Regions from separate parts of the Homo sapiens genome. Here all the other regions are linked to region 1. Evidence: promoter capture Hi-C in 16 types of primary human blood cells and fetal thymus (Javierre and others, 2016). All regions are on one chromosome and are shown on one strand. Each heading gives the region's core, a stretch centred on a gene start or on the middle of the fragment in contact. The rest is flanking DNA. Distances are from core to core; before and after follow the strand shown.

The links. The method cuts DNA at HindIII sites, captures the fragments that hold promoters and counts their contacts. A CHiCAGO score of 5 or more calls a contact.
Region 2: a fragment that was not itself captured here is called in contact with the fragment with the promoter of MXD3 in region 1 in 1 of 17 cell types (non-activated CD4 T cells); the score reaches 5.7 in non-activated CD4 T cells.
Region 3: a contact is called between the fragment with the promoter of NHP2 here and the fragment with the promoter of MXD3 in region 1, in 2 of 17 cell types (total B cells and total CD4 T cells). The highest score is 6.3, in total B cells.
Region 4: the fragment with the promoter of N4BP3 here is called in contact with the fragment with the promoter of MXD3 in region 1 in 2 of 17 cell types (naive B cells and total CD4 T cells); the score reaches 7.7 in naive B cells.
Region 5: a contact is called between a fragment that was not itself captured here and the fragment with the promoter of MXD3 in region 1, in 1 of 17 cell types (monocytes). The highest score is 6.8, in monocytes.
Region 6: a contact is called between a fragment that was not itself captured here and the fragment with the promoter of MXD3 in region 1, in 6 of 17 cell types (total B cells, naive B cells, total CD8 T cells and 3 more). The highest score is 14.5, in total B cells.
Region 7: a fragment that was not itself captured here is called in contact with the fragment with the promoter of MXD3 in region 1 in 2 of 17 cell types (megakaryocytes and fetal thymus); the score reaches 5.7 in megakaryocytes.

Annotation. Positions count from the first base shown.
Region 1 is chr5:177,310,531-177,313,237 of GRCh38, reverse strand. MXD3 (MAX dimerization protein 3) reads left to right here and starts at 1,340. Exons shown (of 6, transcript NM_031300.4): 1 at 1,340-1,477; 2 at 1,754-1,859; 3 at 2,541-2,570; 4 at 2,698-2,707. The coding sequence starts at 1,408. RefSeq lists enhancers at 206-265, 1,916-2,115, 2,373-2,707 and silencers at 486-1,055, 1,186-1,365. The HindIII fragment of the contact is 10,591 bases long and covers 1-2,707 here.
Region 2 is chr5:178,193,001-178,195,707 of GRCh38, reverse strand. No RefSeq gene overlaps it. Among named protein-coding and RNA genes, the nearest start is that of GMCL2, 7.0 kb to the right of the region's middle. The HindIII fragment of the contact is 1,489 bases long and covers 634-2,122 here.
Region 3 is chr5:178,152,518-178,155,224 of GRCh38, reverse strand. NHP2 (NHP2 ribonucleoprotein) reads left to right here and starts at 1,340. Exons shown (of 4, transcript NM_017838.4): 1 at 1,340-1,567; 2 at 1,665-1,734. The coding sequence starts at 1,408. The HindIII fragment of the contact is 33,810 bases long and covers 1-2,707 here.
Region 4 is chr5:178,112,147-178,114,853 of GRCh38, reverse strand. N4BP3 (NEDD4 binding protein 3) reads right to left here and starts at 1,322. Exons shown (of 5, transcript NM_015111.2): 1 at 1,083-1,322. RefSeq lists enhancers at 93-152, 1-194 and silencers at 233-282, 633-952, 1,033-1,582. The HindIII fragment of the contact is 16,661 bases long and covers 1-2,707 here.
Region 5 is chr5:176,530,358-176,533,064 of GRCh38, reverse strand. RNF44 (ring finger protein 44) reads left to right here. Exons shown (of 11, transcript NM_014901.5): 2 at 549-699; 3 at 872-1,061; 4 at 1,435-1,602; 5 at 2,044-2,217; 6 at 2,322-2,483. The coding sequence starts at 593. Among named protein-coding and RNA genes, the nearest start is that of RNF44, 5.7 kb to the left of the region's middle. The HindIII fragment of the contact is 9,510 bases long and covers 1-2,707 here.
Region 6 is chr5:178,071,800-178,074,506 of GRCh38, reverse strand. No RefSeq gene overlaps it. Among named protein-coding and RNA genes, the nearest start is that of N4BP3, 40 kb to the left of the region's middle. The HindIII fragment of the contact is 3,898 bases long and covers 1-2,707 here.
Region 7 is chr5:176,643,035-176,645,741 of GRCh38, reverse strand. It overlaps EIF4E1B (eukaryotic translation initiation factor 4E family member 1B), which reads right to left. Exons shown (of 9, transcript NM_001099408.2): 4 at 2,476-2,660; 5 at 2,008-2,103; 6 at 1,303-1,366; 7 at 499-612; 8 at 226-365. Among named protein-coding and RNA genes, the nearest start is that of TSPAN17, 3.1 kb to the left of the region's middle. RefSeq lists enhancers at 1-435, 1,017-1,656, 1,657-2,298. The HindIII fragment of the contact is 4,593 bases long and covers 1-2,707 here.

The DNA of each region.
Region 1 (2,707 bases), core at 91-2,590:
TTACCAGGACTGTCTCTTTACAGAGCATCTATCCCTCCCACCTTCCCTCCCCTCTCTATTTTGGGATTACTGGAGTCACAGACTCAGCCCGTGGCTGGCAGCAATGCTCCACCCTGCTACAGCTGCGTTCATCTTCCTGTCCCCAGATGTGGCCCCACCTGCTGGTGCTGAGGCTAGAAGTCATCACAGCCACTCCTTCGGCCGGCTAGGAGAGTCAGGTGCAAGAAGGGTTTATGGACTCTGAGTAAGGCAAGCAGGGGCTGCCTGGGAGGCAAACGCCGCGGTCTGGTTGCACTGGCCTTTGAGATGGGCGGCTCCTTCATGCCATGGGCACCGCAGAGGCATTGGCTCTGATCCTTCAACGCTGTCGCAGGGCTCCTGAGGCTTAGAGACGGAGGTCACCTCCTGAGTCATACACAGCTGAGACATCAGTGACAGGAGAGGACCCCAACTGCGTGGATACCAGAGCCCAAGGCCCCGGAAAAGGCCATTTCGCGTGCCTCCAGGGTATGGCCTGCCTGAGGAAGCTGTTACCCCACTGACGTTTTCGTAGCAACAACAGCTTCCTCACAGAAGAGGAGGGGGGCCGAGATATTATTCCCATTCGACACAGTAGGAAGCTGGGGCCCACGGGGGCCTTCGGGGGCAGATGGCAGGCAGGCTTGGGGACAGACCCCGGAGGGCAGGAGCCGGGTCCGCCGCCCCTCCGCCGGCGCCTGCGCATTGAGGCCCAGCTCCCCTCTCAACCCCGCCCCATCGCTTGGGTTTTCAAATTTGAAACCTGCTTCTTTTCCCGCCCGAACGTGTGGATCAGCGGCGGGAGAGGGCGGGGCAGAGCGCCAGCCAATAGGGCATCAGAGGCTCCCCGACCCCGCCCCGAGGATGACAACAGCGATCCTTGAGAAGCCATGTGCGAATGGGCGAGCGGCGGCCGGAGGCCCCGCCCCCGCGGCACCCACGTGCAGCGGCTGGGCCCGGCGCTTTCAGGGGACCACCAGGCCCCCAGAGCGCCGTGCTATGTTGGGGGCTAGTCACTAGCACGGGGCTGGAAGCTGAGATCAAAGACGCCAATGAGCCGGCGTGGGTGGATGAGTGAGGCGGGCAAGAAGCAGCACCGGTTAGCCTGAGGGTTCGCTCCAGGGCCAGGCCTGGAGCCAGCGCCCTTACCTGCCCCTGGAAAGTCTGAGACCACTCGGGGCGGGGCGGCTGCCGGAGGGTGGGCTGCGGCTCCGTGGCGGGTTCCAGAGGGGCGGAGCCAAGGGCTGGGCGTTCCCGCGGGCGGGGCGTCCCGGGGGCGGGGCGGGCCCCTGTGTTTGTTGCACCGTGTCAGTTACTTTGTAACAAAAGTGCTGCAGCCGCTTGCTCCGGCCGGCACCCTAGGCCGGCCCGCCGCCAGCTGTCGCCGACATGGAACCCTTGGCCAGCAACATCCAGGTCCTGCTGCAGGCGGCCGAGTTCCTGGAGCGCCGTGAGAGAGGTGAGGAAGGACCCTTGGCTGAATTCCGGGCGGCGACCTCGCTGACACGGGCCTGGACTGGACCTGGCTCCCAGCTTGAAGGATGCACCGCCCTAGGACAGTAATCCCGGGGCGCCTCGCCCTCAACTCGAGAGGAGTCCCGGGGCGGTAGAGCAGGGACGGGTGGGGGAAATGGTCCTGGCGCCAAAAGCCTTTCCTTGACCGTGCTGTGCCTGGGGCTGCCGCTGGGACCAGGTCCAGCCCCAGCCTGACGCGGGCGGGGACTCTCTCTGGCAGAGGCCGAGCATGGTTATGCGTCCCTGTGCCCGCATCGCAGTCCAGGCCCCATCCACAGGAGGAAGAAGCGACCCCCCCAGGCTCCTGGCGCGCAGGACAGCGGGCGGTGAGGAGGCCGGGGGCGGCGGGAGTGGGGGTGGGGGTGGGCGCCGCCCCTGGTCGGGCCCTCCTCTGCCCACTTGTTGCTTGCATCTTTTGGGCCAGGTGTCCCGCTCCAGGAAGCGTTCAGACCCCTCCTGCCATCTCCCCACTCTCCAAACACACTCACACCTTTCTATTCATTCAAGGACTATTTCTTGAGCACCTCTAGATGTGCCGGGAACTGCCAACAGCAGTTGGGGTCCCGCTTCCACTCGCACTCCCGCACCCCACACATCAGGCCACTCACCTCCCCCGCTGGCTTCCTCCTCTTCTCTCCTCTCCCCAGCCCTTTGCATATGCTGTTCCCTCCTATTTGAATGCCCCTCCCTCCAGTACCGGCTTGGGAAACATCTGTTTCCGCAGTTAGCTGTCACCTCTGGGAGGTCCTTTCTGGCCAGCTGGCAGGCGCCCTTGTTAGGGCCCTCATACCCACCTGGGCAGGCTTCTGTTAAGCATTTGGCTCCGTGTGTCTTTGACTCCCCTCGCCCTGCCAGGGGACTCTGGTGTCTGAGGCCAGCATGAGCTCTCCACAGGGGACTTGTTTGGGGCAGACATCTGTAGTGGCTCTTGAGCCACTGGGGGCCCTGGGATTGGGGCATGGGCAGTAGCTGATTCCCCTTCACCTCATCCTCTCTGGCATTGGCAGGTCAGTGCACAATGAACTGGAGAAGCGCAGGTGAGTCCCAGTCCTGCCCTGACAGCGCCAGCCCCCAGGGGCCACTGCCCTCTGGCCTTCCCTCCCCTGCCATTCCTGTGGCCGGCAAGGTGGGGCTGGCACTGCCCTCCAGACCTCTTCCCCACAGGAGGGCCCAG
Region 2 (2,707 bases), core at 129-2,628, 880 kb before region 1:
TCACGTGATCCACCCACCCCAGCCTCCCAAAGTGCTGGAATTATAGGCATGAGCCACCGTGCCCAGATTGAGCCTCAGTTTCTTTTTTTTTTTTTTTTTTTTTGAGACAGACTCTCACTCTGTCGCCCAGGCTGGAGTGCAGTGGTGCAATCTCGGCTCACTGCAAGCTCCGCCTGCTGGGTTCACACCATTCCCCTGCCTCAGCCTCCGGAGTAGCTGGAACTACAGGCACCCGCCACCATGCCCAGCTAACTTTTTGTATTTTTTTTGGTAGAGATGGGGTTTCACCGTGTTAGCCAGGATGGTCTCAATCTCCTGACCTCGTGATTCGCCCGCCTCGGCCTCCCAAAGTGCTGAGACTACAGGCGTGAGCCACCGTGCCCGGCCGAGCCTCAGTTTCTGATTCCACAACAATTCATCTATTCACTCATGTATTTACTCAATTGAATTGTTGACGCTGCAATTGCCAGCAACATGCCCTTGACCTCCAGGACAGACTGGGTCTGTGAACTCTAAACCCTCATGCATAACTGTCCCTTAAACATCTTTACTGAGGCTAAGCAGGGGTTCTCCAGCAGAGATGGAAAAGAAGGGGTGCAGGCAGAGAAGACGACACAGCTCAGGTTCCAAGCTTGAGAAAGCAGAGGCTGCTTGGAGAACTGCAAGTTGCTCCACACGATGAAGAGGAGCTGGGACAGCGCGGCTGGGCAAGGGCTTTGGGTGCCACGACAAAGGGTTCAGATTTATCCCGCAGGAAACTGGAAGTCAGTGAATACTGCTATGGCGGTGGTCCAGTGGAGGAAATGGGAAGGAGGGGATGAACAGAGACATCGAGGAGGGTGAGTTGGCAGAACGTTGTGTTTGTGTGTGGTGACAACCCCCAACTCCATACATGGAGCAGGATGGGCAATAAGGCTGGAACACTGGACCAGAGCCGCTTGGTGGAGGGCCTTGGACTCAGAGGCTTGCTTCTCTCAAGGAGAAACCCTTTCACCCCCTGCTTCCTTGCTATGCCTCCTGCTGGTGGCACCAATTGTCTTGACCATTTTCTTCTAGTATATTTGTCCCTAAAGGCTAGAGAAGGATCAAGAAATGATGCATTTCCAAGATCAAGTCCAGACCTTTTGGTAACAAAGGCTGGCAGAGGGGAAAGTGAGCAGAGCAGCGCTGGGCTTCCAGCCTCCCCGTGCCAGGTCCTTTCACCTCCTCCACCACACCAGCCTTTGGTCTAATCAGACCCAAGGGAAAGAGACAAGGGGCACTCCGAGGTTTTCATCTTCCTACCCAAGTGCTGAGTCTGAAAGACCACAGAGACATAGACACAGAAAGCCTGCCTTTCTCCTGCCAGCCAAGAAATAGGAAGCCACAGACAGGACCATCCCCTCCGCACCTCCCACCTCCCTTCTCCCTGCACAGCAGAGGGGAAGGCAAAGCTGGCTCTGCGGGTGTGAACAGGAAACGCAAGAAGCCCCAGCTCTGGCCGTTCCCAGCACAGGGCCAGGCAAGGCAGGGCTCCCCAGGCAGGGCAGAGGAGGCAGCAGCGGGTGGGGTGTCGAGGACAGAGACTCAGCCTCCAGTCAACACAGGGAAACAGCCAGAGGCCTTCTCCTGCTGTGAAAAGAAAGGATTCTTGGCTTCTTAGGGCTTCATGCCGTGCATGTCTTAACATACAATTTTCATATTCTGCCAGTGAACTGGTCAGAGCCCTTCTCCAACAGGGGCCAGGATGTAGGCTTGGAGTGGAAGACAAATACATGCTGTGTGCTGATCCAGGTGGGTGAGAGACAGAAAGCCCTCAGGGCAGGGTCTCTCTCTTTCATACTCACCACTTGGCCAACTGCTTGGCAACATCTTGCTTTTTAAATTTTATTTATTGATTTATTTTTTATAGAGACGTGGTCTCACTATGTTGATCAGGCTGGTCTCAAACTCCCAGCCTCAAGCAATCCTCCTGCCTTGGCCTCCCAAAGTGCTGGGATTACAGGCATGTGCCACCATGCCCAGCCAACATCTTGCTTCTTGCCACCTGCCTTGCTGCACAGCCTCTTACAGATACCCTCAAACAGCTCAGTCCCCTACCCACAAAGCCTAACCACTCCCTCAACTCACTGCTGCAGAAGCTTCCTCAGTGTGTGCCTCCGTGAACCCTGCCCCTCCACTTCACCTTAATGAGATCCAGCTGTCCCTCCGTGATCCCACACTCCACTGCTGAACACCAGGCCACGCCCTTCCACTTCCCCCCGAGGCAAATCGGGGTCATCTCACTCGGGGCGCTCCACCTTCACTACTAGAGCAGCACTGTATACCAGATACGGATGCAAAACAGCCACAAGTGCAAACACACATGTCATTTAAATTTTTCTAATAGCCACATTAAAAAGTGACTCAACAGTGAGAAGATGCTATGGTTTGGATGTGGTTTGCCCCTACCAAAACTCATGTTGAAATTTAATTGCCAATATAACGGCATTGAGACGTGGGGGGACCTTTCAGGGGTGTTTGGATCATGAGGGATGGGCCTTCACGACAGGATATTAATGCAAGTCCCATAGAAGTGAGTTCTCACTCTCTTGGGTCTGGATCAGTTACCTTCAGAGTTGGGTTGTCATCAAGCAAGGTCGCCCCTCGTGTTTTCCCCCTTTCCTCCAGGTGCCTGGTCCGCCTTCCATTTCTCTGCCACATTTTGGTGCAGCACACAGCTCTCACC
Region 3 (2,707 bases), core at 91-2,590, 840 kb before region 1:
CCCGGGTAGCTGGAACCACAGGCACGAGTCACCACACCCGGGAAAGGCCAATTTTTAAGTTGGTTTAACTGACCTGTGTTCCCACCCACAACTACCGGAACACTTCTAAGTTTCTACTTACTGGCCTGTTCCAGCAACACAAAAATGGCAGGCCTGCCACATCAGGATCAAAGGTAATTAGTATTACAAATTAGTAATTTGCAGCGATTATCTAATTAATATCCATCCAGAGTTCCAAAATATAGTGGAAGAGGCTAATCAGAGATACCAAGATCCACTGGATCTCGGCCTGCCACCGCCCCCCACGCCCTGGCAGCTCTGTCCCTTTACCTTCTACAGACCCGTCCAAAGGGTAGCTCCTCATAGCTCTCACCCTGCACGGCAGGGAGCTCAGTCCCCAAAGCCTTCCCTCCGCTGTTCCCGGCTTCGCTGGAGCCGTCCTTCCCTCAGCCCCGGCTGGCTTCTCGGCTAGGCCCTCTGCATGTGTAGCGTCAGGCAATGGTAAGAACTGCGGGAAAATAGCGGGTGAAGGGATGCTGGTTTGGAGAGAGAGGGGACGGCAATTTTAGATAAAATCACCAGGGAAACCTCTCCCATGGGAAACACTGAAACGGAACCCTGCGGGATGAGAGTGAGCCACACGCTATCTGTGGAAAAGCGGTGCAGACGCAGGTCAGTGGGGTCATCCCTTGCTCTGTATCTTTCACACCTGCGCAGCCGGGTCCAGGGGTCAGAAAACAAAGAAAAATTATGCAAGAAAGGAGGCAGCCTTAGGCCGGGCGCGGTGGCTCACGCCTGTAATCCCAGCACTTTGGGAGGCCGAGGCGGGCGGATCGCCTGAGGTCAGGAGTTCAAGACCAGCCTGACCAACATGGAGAACCCCTGTCTCTAGTAAAAATACAAAATTATCTGGGCGTGGTGGCGCATGCCTGCAATCCCAGCTACTCGGGAGGCTGAAGTAGGAGAATCGCTTGAACCCGGGAGGCGGAGGTTGCAGTGAGTCGAGATTGCGCCACTGTACCCCAGCCTGGGCAATAAGAGCGAAACTCTGCCTCAAAAAAGAAAAAAAACGAGGCAGCCTTTCCAGCACCCAGAGCCCCGCCCTCTCCGGCCCCGATTCCCAGGGCTCCGCCCCTTGCCTCACATTCCCTCCGCTCCGCCCTAATCGGTTCCGCCCAGTCCCTTGGTCCGGGGATGGCCCCGCCTTAAGGACCATGACTCCGCCCCTCTCCGCTCTCCGTAGTTACGAAGCTGGGCGTCAACGATTGGGCTGAGTCGGAGACTTCCTTTCCTGATTGGCCGTGTTGTACGGCGGCTTCTCGCGCAGCTGATGACCTGGAAGTGATGCCTAAAGCTGTGGACCGCGTGGGCTCGCCTCCCTGGGACTAGGTTTCAGCGGCCGCTGCGATGACCAAAATAAAGGCAGATCCCGACGGGCCCGAGGCTCAGGCGGAGGCGTGTTCCGGGGAGCGCACCTACCAGGAGCTGCTGGTCAACCAGAACCCCATCGCGCAGCCCCTGGCTTCTCGCCGCCTCACGCGGAAGCTCTACAAATGCATCAAGAAAGGTGAGGCGGACGGCGGCGTGGCCGGGATGGGTGCGCGGGTGGGATGGGTGCGCGGGTGGCTGAGCGAGGCCCCCGACCGACTCTTCTGTCGTTGCAGCGGTGAAGCAGAAGCAGATTCGGCGCGGGGTGAAAGAGGTTCAGAAATTTGTCAACAAAGGAGAAAAAGGGTAAGAACCTTCCTTCCTCTGGATTTTGCATTTCTAAACGTTAACGGAGAAATCTCTACTTAGTAGGCGCGCAGTAAAAAGGTTAACTCTGACCTAGCCCCATATACAGAAGCCAATCAAGCAGTCGGTAAAGTCCCTTTGGTACAATACCGGTACGACAATACCGGTACACCACGTATACCAGCTCAAAGTGAATTCCAAAGTGAAGCGAATTGTGTAAGCAAAGTCCCTTAGAGTAAACCCACCTTCATTAATTCAGGGACCCTCCTCCCCGGGCTCCGCTCCTTGCCTCAGATTACCTCCGGCCCCCGCCCTAATCCTCTCAGCCCTGAATCTCAGTCCTAGGGATGACCCCTCTCCGGCTCTGTATTTAAGGAACTGAACGTTAACGTTTTTGTTTGTTTTTGAGATGGGTCTAGCTCTCACCCAGGTTGGAGTGCGGTGGTGCGATCACAGCTCGCTGCAGCCTCGTCCCCCTGGGCTCAAGCGATCCTCCCACCTCAGCCTCCCGAATAGCTGAGACCACCGGCTTGCGCCACGCCTGGCTGTTGTTATTGTTGTTTTGCAGAGACAGAGGAGTCTCGCCATGTTGCCCGGGCTGGTCTTGAACTCCTGGGCTCAAGGAATCCTCCTGCCTCAGCCTCCCGAAGCGTTGGGATTACAGGCATGAGCCACCGCGCCTGGCAGCCTTAACAATTGAATGTACTCTTTTTCAGGCACTGTGTTATGGGGGAAACAGTGACATTCATTCATCAGATAATGACACACACACAACTAATTACACGTTGTGATAGATAGCCATGAAGGAAAATAACAGAGTGCAATGATAACTTCATCACCCCACTTTTCTTAATGGCATTTATCAAAGTTTGAACCTTGTTTACATTTTTCTTCCCTTTATCACCCTCTCAGGCCAGATGGTAAGCTCCTTCAGAACAGGGCCTCCTTGCTTTATCCCAAGAAGTGAAACTGT
Region 4 (2,707 bases), core at 73-2,572, 800 kb before region 1:
CCACCAGGCCTGGAATCCCTCCTGCTGCCCCCCAGGTCAGGAAGAAATAGAGGAAACCTGCCTCATGGGGACTCCGAGTCGCTATGCTAGCTCTAGAGGCGGTGGCAGAGGCAGGCTGGCCGCATTCATTCACAGTCTGGCACATGCACACCACACGCTGCCAGCCGGTAGAGAAGCCCTGCCTGGGAGGGCCCTGGGAGGAGGCTGATAACCGCGCCCAGGATGGCCTCCTGCGTCCGCTCCCTCCCGAGGACAGCCAGGCCCAATCTGTTCCTATGTGGTTGGGGTCGGGGGGTGGCCCAGTGGGAGGCAACGGGTCTCAGTTCTCTTTCTGGATACAGCCAGGGCCCTGATTTCGGCTTGTCCCCAGGCCAGCCCTCACTTGGGCCAAAGGCTGTGGCCGGGACTGGACCGGGTGCTCTGGCGGTCAAGACCTAGGAATGTCCCCTACCCGCAGACCCGCAGCTGCAGCCTGGTGGACCGGCAGGGGGTTGGGGGATAAAGGAGGTGTGGGAGGAAGCGAGAGATCTCATGGGGAAGTCAGAGGGGCAAACGAGGTTGCATCCCCACGGAATTTGTGTCAGGAAAGCAGGGGTGAAGGCGAGGGTTCCCCAAAGCTGCGGGAGGTCCCGGAGCTACCTGGGGGGCGGGGTGGGAGGCGCGTCTCCTCCTGGCCCCTCCCTGAGGCCTGCCGGGAGCGGCTGGGCCGGGGGGCGGAGGCCGAGGTCAGACGCCGGCGCCAAGGACGCCTGCCCCACCCAGCCGTGGCGCAGGGGTCCCGCGCGCTGCTCCCTGGAAAGCGCGTTTGCAGGGGTTGGGGAGAGCAAGGTAGCCTGCCGCCTGCCCCTCCAGCGGAGCATCGGGGTCGGTCCCCGATCCGGTGCCTCGGTGACCGGGAGCAGGGGACACCTGGGCGCACGCCGCACCTTGCCACCCCCGCCCATCTCTCAGACGGGAGCCTCGGCCAGCGGGACAGCAGCTTTGCCAAGGACGCCCGAAAACAAGACCTTGGCGACCCGCCCCACCCCTCCCCACCCCCCGAGTCCAGCCCGGGTCCCCAGCCCCTCGCGCGCCCCACTTACCATGGTGGCGACGCGCTCGCCGGCCCGCGGCTCCGCAGCCCTTGCGCGTCGCAGCTCCCCCGCGCGGATTTGAACCCTCCTGCAAGGCGTCGGCTCGGGCCGGGACTGCGTGCCGGGTCGGAGCGGCGGAGCGGCAGGCGCCGGGAAAACGCGGGCGGGCGCCGGCGCCGGAGCCGGATTGGCGAGGGAGGGACGCGCTCCGCGGCGCTCGATCGCCTGCCCCAAAGGCGGAGGGAAAACCCGGCCTGACTCACCGGCGCGCGGCAAGCCCACAGCCCGGCCCCGGCCCCCGGATGTGGGGGGCGGGGCCGCCTACCCGCGAGCCAACCTGGGCCCCGCCCGGCCCCGACCGCGCCCCCGGCCCTGACCCGCAGAGGCGCCGCACGGCGGTGGCGGGCGAAACCTGGACCGGCTGCGCCTCGCGTCGCTGCCTCCTTGAGCGCCCCGGCTCGTTCCCGAGGGGTGGGCAGCCCCGAGCGCGGCCCACGCCCCAGAGAGCGCACAGCGCCCCCGCTTCTCCTCCTCCGCCGTTCGCCTCGCCCGCCTCCTCTAAGGAAGAGGCGCGTGAGGTCCCTCACCTCCCTAATTGTAGCCGCCTCCTCTCCGGAAAACCTGATTTCCCCCCTTTGGGGATGAACCACAGTAGTACTTTGAGAAGTGAAAAGATTTTACCCCACGACTCTGGCTGAATTGGGCACAGAGTTATTTTCTTTTTGCCTCCAAAGTATTCTAGGGGCAGCAAAATCAGGTGCCTTCAGGGGCCAGAAAAATTACGCAAATGAGTCGTGAGCTTCCTACTAAGACAGTAGGAAGACATGGAAACAGACACAGACACGTAAAGGAGTCATATTCGAAAAATTAAAACACCGTTTCTAATTCAAAAGTTAAGCATAGAGTTACCATATGATCCGGCAATTATAGTCCTCAAACAAGTAATGTTCTTGGCAGTACTAGTCACAATAGTCAAAGAGCCAAAAGGTGGAAACAGCCCAAACTAACAATTGATGAGGGTGTAAGCAAACAATGGTAGATCCATTCAGTGGAATATTATTCAGCCATAAAAAAGAAATGAACGCCATGTGATGACTCATGTCTGAACTCTCCCAGCACTTTTGGAGGCCAGGAGTTCAGGAACAGCCTGGGCAACTCACAAAACTCCATCTCTATCTTAAAAAAAAAAAGACCTGATGTGGTGGCTCACCCCTGTAATCCTAGCATTTTGGGAGGCCGAGGCAGGCGGCTCACTTGAGGTCAGGAGTTTGAGACCAGCCTGGCCAACATGGCGAAATTCTATCTCTACCAAAAACACCAAACATTAGCCAGGCATGGTGGAGCGAGCCTGTAATCCCAGCTACTCGGGAGGCTAAGGTAGGAGAATTGCTTGAACCCAGGAGGCAGAGTTGCAATGAACGGAGATTGTGCCACTACACTCCAGCCTGGATGATGGCGTAAGCCTGTCTCAAAAAAAAAAAGAAAGAAAAGAAAAGAAAAAGAGGAATGAAACACTGATGATACCTGCTACAACATGGATAAACCTCCAAAACATGGCAAGTGAAAGAAACCAGACACAAAGCCCACATGTGTTAATGATGCCATTTATAATAAGTAAATCCAGACAAACAGAA
Region 5 (2,707 bases), core at 115-2,614, 780 kb after region 1:
GCCCTGAGACCCCGCCCAGCAGGAGCCTACCAGGAACCCACTGGCTTGGAAGCACGCTGGCCAGCTCGCTGAGCTCCGCAACTGAGGGGGACTGGGTCCCATTTCACACAGCAGGAGGGTGAGGCCTGGGTGCTGGCAGGCTGAGCTGTCCTGGCGTGTCAGCACTGGACCCCAGGGCTCGGAGGAGGGGCACGGCTGAACACCATTGGTCCCTGGGGTCACACTGCAGAGGTTTGGTTCTGTCTCCTGACCCCTCATGGCACAAGCGCCTGGACTTCTCTGTGCCTCAGTTTCTTTCTTTTTTTTTTTTTTTTTTTGAGACGGGAGTCTCGCTCTGTCACCAGACTAGAGTGCAGTGGTGCGATCTCAGCTCAGCTCACTGCAACCTCCGCCTCCCGGGTTCAAGCGATTCTCATGCCTCAGCCTCCCAAGTAGCTGGGATTACAGGTGTCCACCACCATGCCTGGCTAGTTTTTGTATTTTTAGCAGAGACGAGGTTTCACCATGTTGGCCAGGTGCCTCAGTCTTCTTGTCTCCTTGCCTCCTAGGGTTGTGAGTCCCGGCCCAGCCCCTCCACCCCCCTGCCCCCCCGATGCGACCATGGGCTCTGGCAGTGACTAGGTGGCCACCCTCCGCCCCCGTGGGCCAGCGGCGATTCTCTGCGGGACCTGGCAGCACCCCGGGCCAGCTCTGGGGAAGGTAGGAAGGAGCCTCCCAGTCCTGGTGCTGGGGCATGGGGGCCAGCAGGGGTGGGGCGCAGGGCCCTGAGCTGCCTTCCCTCCCCATGGGGGGAGTCACCCTGGCTTCTCTCCCTGCTCTGTGCACGAGTGGCCCCCCTCAGTCCTATCGGGGCCTCCTCTCTGTGGTGCAGCCCTGGCCTCGAGGGCCCCCTGGCCAGCCCGCCTGCCCGGGATGAGCGCTTACCCTCCCAGCAGCCGCCGTCCCGACCTCCACACCTCCCCGTAGAGGAGCGCCGAGCCTCGGCTCCTGCCGGCGGGAGCCCCCGAATGCTGCACCCAGCCACCCAGCAGAGCCCGTTCATGGTTGATCTCCACGAGCAGGTAGGCAGAACCCCATCCCCTGTGCCCCTGGCCCTGTGAGCCAGTCTGAGAGGCAGAGGCAGCAAGGCCTAGATTTCACCTAGCTTGCTTCATTTCACGTTCCAGGGAGGCATTATTGGCCCTGCTTTACAGGTAGGTAAACTGAGGCCCGGGGAAAGGGCCACACTGGGTGACTAGCAGAGCTAGATTCCCACGGGGCTTTCTCTGCCCCGGGGGCCTGGGAGTAGAGGCACAGTCTGGTCTGCACTGAGGTAGGCCGCCGTGGAGAAGGGAAGGGAGCCGGCAGCTGGATGTGGCAGGATGATTTCTCCTGAGAGTAGCCCTCGCGGTCAGCTTCCTTTTCATACTTTCCCGGCGTTCTCTCCACCCACAGGTGCACCAGGGACCTGTCCCTCTGTCCTACACGGTCACCACAGTGACGACCCAAGGCTTCCCCTTGCCTACAGGCCAGCACATCCCTGGCTGCAGTGCCCAGCAGCTCCCAGCATGCTCCGTGATGTTCAGTGGGCAGCATTACCCCCTCTGCTGCCTCCCGCCCCCGGTGAGTGAGTGTTTCTAGCTCCTCCTCCACCAGCTGCAAGCCCCAGGCACAGGCCAGCGGCTCAGCGGGCCCAGGGCAGCCCTGAACTGGGCTGAGCTATCCAGCCATCCAGGCTGTCAGAGCGCCTGCCTGGCCTCCCCAGGAAAGCATACGCGTGTTCACATTTGGTAATAGAGTGTTTCAAGGTTCAGGAACCTTCCAGTACCCCTGTACCTGCCTCACAGCTTGGCAGAGGCCCAGGAGTTGAGGCTGTGGGCCTTAACAGTGGAGTGTCCTGCCTGGGTGGCCTAGGACAGGGATGGGCCTTCCACAGGGTTTCTTATACAGACCCTGGAGCTGCTGGGTGTGTGCCCGGTGGGGGCCTTTTGCTGGGTGGCATGGCGTAGACCTGGCCCAGAGCCCAGGAGAACGTTCTCAGCCCCCTGCCCCCTCTCTTGGCAGCTTATCCAGGCGTGCACCATGCAGCAGCTGCCTGTGCCCTATCAGGCCTACCCCCACCTCATCTCCAGTGACCACTACATCCTGCACCCCCCACCACCGGCCCCACCCCCCCAGCCCACCCACATGGCGCCCCTGGGGCAGTTTGTGTCTCTGCAGACCCAGCACCCTCGGATGGTGAGTCGGCATGGGTCCGATGCTGGAGGGAGATGGCGTGGGGGGAGGCAGGGTGAGGACAGCCTCGTCTCACTGACTTGCTGACCCGGCGCTGGTTCTTCCAGCCCCTCCAGCGGCTCGACAACGACGTGGACCTGCGTGGGGACCAGCCCTCCCTGGGCAGCTTCACCTACTCCACCTCTGCGCCTGGCCCAGCCCTTTCCCCGTCGGTGCCCCTGCACTACCTGCCCCACGATCCGCTGCACCAGGAGCTGTCCTTTGGTGTGGTGAGTGCCACCCCGACCCCCACCTGGGCTCCAGGGCAGCTGGGAGGCAGACCCGCTGGGCCGACCTGCATCTGGGCTCCCAGGCAGCTGGGAGGCAGGCCCACCGGGCTGACTTGCACGTGGGCTCCGGGGCGGCTGGGAGGCAGGCCTGCTGGGCTGACTTGCACCTGGGCTCCGGGGCGGCTGGGAGGCAGGCCCACCGGGCTGACTTGCACGTGGGCTCC
Region 6 (2,707 bases), core at 117-2,616, 760 kb before region 1:
TGGCCCGAGATCTCCTCCAACTGCCCCAGCCAAACGCTACGTCATTCTACCAGTCGATGGCCTGCCAGCATGCCTGTCGGTGTGTTCCTCTCCACATCCAGCCTCCTGTGTGTCTTCTGGCTACAGTCTTGGGGTTTTTTCCAGGCACAAGATAGGGGTGTGGCAGGCCAGGGTGGTCTTGGGAAATGCAACATTTGGGCAGGAAAACAAAAATGCCTGTCCTTACCTAGGTCCGTGGGCACAGGCTGGGGGTGGAGTCCTAGCCAGGGACCATGAACTCCTCTACCCAGCACTTCCTTTCCCCTCTTCTGTATCATTTAAAGGGACCACACTCTTCCCTTCCCAGCACTTCCCTTCCATATCACTAATATATGGAATTAAAAAAAAATTTTTTTTGAGGCGGGGTCTCACTCTGTCACAGAGGTTGGAGTGCAGTGGCATGATCTCGGCTCACTGCAACCTCTGCCTTCCAGGTTCAAGCGATTCTCATGCCTCAGCCTCCCAAGTAGCTGGAACTACAGGCATGCACCACCATGCCCAGCTAATTTAACACCTGGCTAATTTTTGTATTTTGAGTAGAGACGGGGTTTCGCCATGTTGGCCAGGCTGGGTTCGAACTCCTGACCTCAGGTGATCCGACCGCCTCAGCCTCCCAAAGTGTTGGGATTACGGGTGAAAGCCACTGCGCCTGGCCTAAAACATTTTTGTAAAAGATTTATCTATGATTCTTAGCTGATGTATCTTGAAAATTTGGGTAGTGCCAGAAAATATTGCAGTGATACTGGATGGTATGTTTACATTCCAGTGACAGGCAGAGCTTTAGGGAATCAGTTTCCAGGACTCAACTTCCATATGTCTTCTTGCCTAAAGTTGGCCAGGCTGGAACAGCATCTGAGGTGACAGTCTCTCTTCTCCATGATGCCTGCCCCAGATGTCACTGTGTGGGGTTGTCCCCCTTTGATGAAGTTCTGAAGGTAGGGGCATGGGAATGAGGTTAGGGAATTCAACGCAATTTTTTTTTTGAGACAGGGTCTCACTCTCTTGCCCAGGCTGAATACAGCACAATAGCAATCATGGCTCACTGCAGCCTCAGACTCCCGGGCTCAAGCAATCGTCCCACTTTAGCCTCTCTAGCAACTGGGACTCCAGGCATGCACCACCAGGCCCGGCTAATTTTTTAATTTTTATGTTTATTTTTGTAGAGACAGGACCTTGCTATGTTGCCCAGGCTGGTCTTGAACTCCTAGGCTCAAGCGATTCTCCTGCCTCGGCCTACCAAGTAGCTGGGACTACGGCCGTAAATCACCATGCCCGGCTAAGATGGCAATTTAAATTTAGTTCACTGCTTTGCATTTCACACCTCCTCTTTTGTCTAGAAATGCATCTTTCTGGAGGGAATCCCCTAAGAGCAAAGCCAAGAGAGCTACATAGAAAATACCAGCCCCTTTGGAAGCGCTTCTGTCCCTGTTCTCAGCGCTCATCTTAGGACGCGTCCTTAGCAGGACAAGCCTCAGAGCATCGGGAGCAGCAGAGGGTGGTGGTGCTGAGTCTTGCGTGGAGCCGGCCTGTTCTCTGGGAATACCAGCGTTTTCAGACATGTTGGCTGGAACTCACAGATGATATTTTTGTGAGATTTATTTCAGATGCTGTGTGTTAGTCAAGAACGGAGCCAAACTCTTTCGTCAAATCATATAATGGAATATATATATTTTCCTTTTATTTCATCTTTAAAATGTTTAATATTTTCTTTAAATGAAAAACAATTAAAATTTTTATATATTTATTTTTTGAGATAGGGTCACCTGGACTGGAGTGCAGTGGTGTAATCATAGCTTGTTGTAACCTCGAACTCCTGGGCTCAAAGTATCCCCTCACCTCAACCTCTTGAGTAGCTGGGACTATAGGCACTTGCCACCACACCTGAGTTTTATTTTTTATTTTTTTTGTAGAGAGGAGGTCTTGTTATGTTGCCCAGATTGGTGCTTAAACTCCTGGGCTCCAGTGATCCTCCTGCCTTGGCCTCCCAAAGTGCTGGGATTACACACATAAGCCACAGCCTTCTTTGCTTTGCTCCTAGGGGATTCCCTCAAGAGGAATGCATTTCTAGACAAAAGGGGAGGTGGGAAGTCACCCTGGATATAAAATATTTAATATTTTCTTTTCTATTTCTGTTATAAAAAGAGGCCAGGCATGGTGGCTCACACCTGTAATCCCAGCACTTTGAGAGGCCGAGTAGGGCGGATCATCTGAGGTCAGGAGTTCAAGACCAGTCTGGCCAACATGGCGAAACCCTATCTCTACTAAAAATACAAAAATTAGCCAGGCATGTTGATGGGCACCTGTAATCCCAGCTACTCGGGAGGCTGAGGCAGGAGAATTGCTTGAGCCTGGGAGATGGAGGTTGCAGTGAGCCAAGATCTCACCACTGCACACCAGCCTGGCCAACAAAGTGAGACTCTGTCTCAAAAAAAAAAAAAAAAAAAAAAATCTGGTGGTAGTAAGAAACTGTTTCAATACTTAGATTTCATTGGGTCCATTTAAAAGATGAATGAAATAGTTTTTATTTTAAATGTCAATCATTACAATAGTTGGGAAATTACATCTCTTGCAACAATTTAAATGTATAGTGAAAATTTCATATATCATCTTAAAAATATGCAAGAGAATACACATAGTTTTAAAAAGTTTTTAAATTCATTTTTTTTAA
Region 7 (2,707 bases), core at 194-2,693, 670 kb after region 1:
ATGTGGAAACCCAAAATATGACCCCCTTAATGCAAAAGGAGAGCTGCACTGCCGTAAGAGAAAGTTAGAAATCTGAACGCCAGACCTTCCATACAGGTGGGCAAGGCAGAAGGGAGGGAGGCTATGGAGACTTTCAGAGGTCTCCCATGCAGGCCAAGCCCCCTCCACCCACCTTCCCTCTAGCAGAGACCCAAGTCCCCACCCTGTGCCAGAGACCCTCCTCACCCAACGTGCAGCACGCCCGCCTGGTTTTCCGCCTCCCTCGTCCACACAGCGATCTTGTCCCCCTTGGTGCGGATGTTGACGACGGCCCCACATACCTCTCTGCTGTGTTCCTCAAAGCTCTCCCCGATCAGACACAGCAGCTGGACCCGAAGTAGGGGGTTGTGAGATCACCGGCTGGGACATAGGGACTGGCCTGCCATCCTTGAGACCACTGCCACCATGAGACCCACACAGCCCGTCTCTTCCCCTGAGGACCCTCCTCCTCCAACTCACCGTCTCCAGCCACAGCCGGTCCAGCTCAATGTGGCGCTGCTGCTTGGCCAGGCTGACCAGCCAGCGGCCACCCCGTTTATTCCTGCTGTCCTCCCACATGGGCTGGATGCCATCCTGCAAGGCAGATGGCAAGTCAACTGCCTCCCTGTGTTCAAAGGGAAATGGGGACCCACCCACCATCCCGGCCTTATCCGCTCTCTGCTGAGGCCCTAAGTAGGCCAGATTCTCTTATCCTCCCTTCCCTCAGTGCAAGCAGGTTCCACCCCCAGCCACTCAGCTCCCCCCGACAGACAGCACTGGTCACCTTGTATAGCCTTGTATATGTGCATGTCTCTTTTACTGAGTTCCTTAAGACAAGCATTCAAATCGGGGTGGATTAAGGAAGCCTCAGGGGCAGACCCCAATGCAGGCAAGGGGGACATCCCAGGCTTGGCTGCATGGTTCCCAGGCAGGGCAGAAGTCACTGGGGAGATCTCTAAACACAATGTCAGCCCTCCAGGGATGGGTGTGGCATCAATGAGTGTCCTCAAGCAATTCTGATGCCCTTCCCTAGTTAAGGAGCCAGGTCAGAAATCTCTCCCTCTCCCTCTTCCCGCCTCTTAAGGTCCTCCAAGGTGCGGCTTGGGCCTGACCTACTCTGTCCGGGCTCCTGTAGAGCATTTCCTCCAGTCAGAAACCACAACTCTGCTGAGAGGTGGCCCGTAGCTCCCCACCCCCACCCCTCTGAGGGATTAACGCAGTGGAGTCCGGGAGGGATCAACCCCTTGTCCCTTTGCGGGAGGGAAAGAGGAGAGCAGAGCTTACCTTGAAGAGGGCGTAGTCACAGCCAGAGGAGAGCTTGCTGGCCAGCTGGATGTGACTGTATAGCCTGGACAGAGCCCCCGACCCCATGCCAAAAGTCAAGGCTTTTTAGGGCCTGGTTCCAACTGGGTTCAGCCCTCCCAACTCCTCATCCGACCCCATGGCCTCCAAGCCTTTGCTTACACTGGCCTGCCACCTGGGATTCCACTCCCGTTTATCCAAACTCTCAAGACCCACCTTTTCCACAGAGCCTTCCCAGTGAAGGCTGAGCCAACCCCTGGGGAGGGTTTTAGACCCCCTGGTGCTCCCCCCTCCAGCTACAGCCGAGGCCTTCTCACCCTCCCTAGGGCTTGTGTAGCCCTTTTCAGAGCCACTCCCGTGAGCACCCGGACACTGAGGCAGCCGAGTCCTCCCTTTGCAGCTGAGACAGGTTCAGAGAGGGGAAGGAACTTGCCCAGGTCACAAAGCCCTGGAGTGGCCGAGTCAAGGTCAGCTTCCTGCTTCTCCTGCTCCCCAGGCTCTCTCCCTGAGCCCAAAGAAGGTGGTGGGGTGGGGGGTGGTTGTGCCCTATACCCCCTGGGCAGAACCCACAAAGCCCCAGCCCTCACAAAGGCTGAAAGGCCCTAGGGAGGGCTGGCTCAACCCGGAGAGAGGGAGCCCAGAGCTCAGAGCCCCCCAACTCTAGCCCCACTGGGGACAGACACTCACGCCCAGAAGTCCTCCACAGTGTCCACCTTGGTGACCAGGTGCAGGTTGTCCTGCCAGGCCCGGCTGCGGTCATTCTTGAAGAACCACAGAGCCCACCTGGTAGGGGAAGGGGGAGGCAGCCAGGAGGAAGCAGAGAGCCAAGTCCACCCCCGGGGCACCTGGACTGACAGGGAGGACCCTCCCCTTCAAGGGCGAACTGGGAGATGAGATTTGGGGCACAGCATTCCCCTCTCAGGTGAATGAAATCAGTTGTCCTGAAGGGCAGGGGAGGAGTGGGGGTGTTTGACCCACAGTCTCTGCGGGGTTAGGGCTGGAAGGGCCAACAGGGCCCAAGGCTTAGGTCAGCCCTGGCCTCCCACGGATGAAGAGCTAGGGCCAAGAGAGGCGGGGTTGCCCAAGGCCACGCTGCCAGCACAGAGGCTGGCCTGAAAGCAAGGGGCTGTGTTCCACTCGCAGGCTCCTGCCTACCTGTTCTGCAAGGGGTGCAGCTCCAGCTTGACTTCCATGGGGCCCCCCGTCCGGGCCTTCCCTCTCAGAGACAGCAAAGTCCTGGGAGAGTTTGGAGACTTTTCTCCTGTGGGCGTCCTCTCTGCTGCCTCCTCCTCCTTCTCCTCCTCCTCCCACTCTCGGATTCCACCCTCAGCTTCACTCACCTGAGCCAAAAAAAGGAGTCAGGATGGGTTGTGAGCTCTGGCCCTGG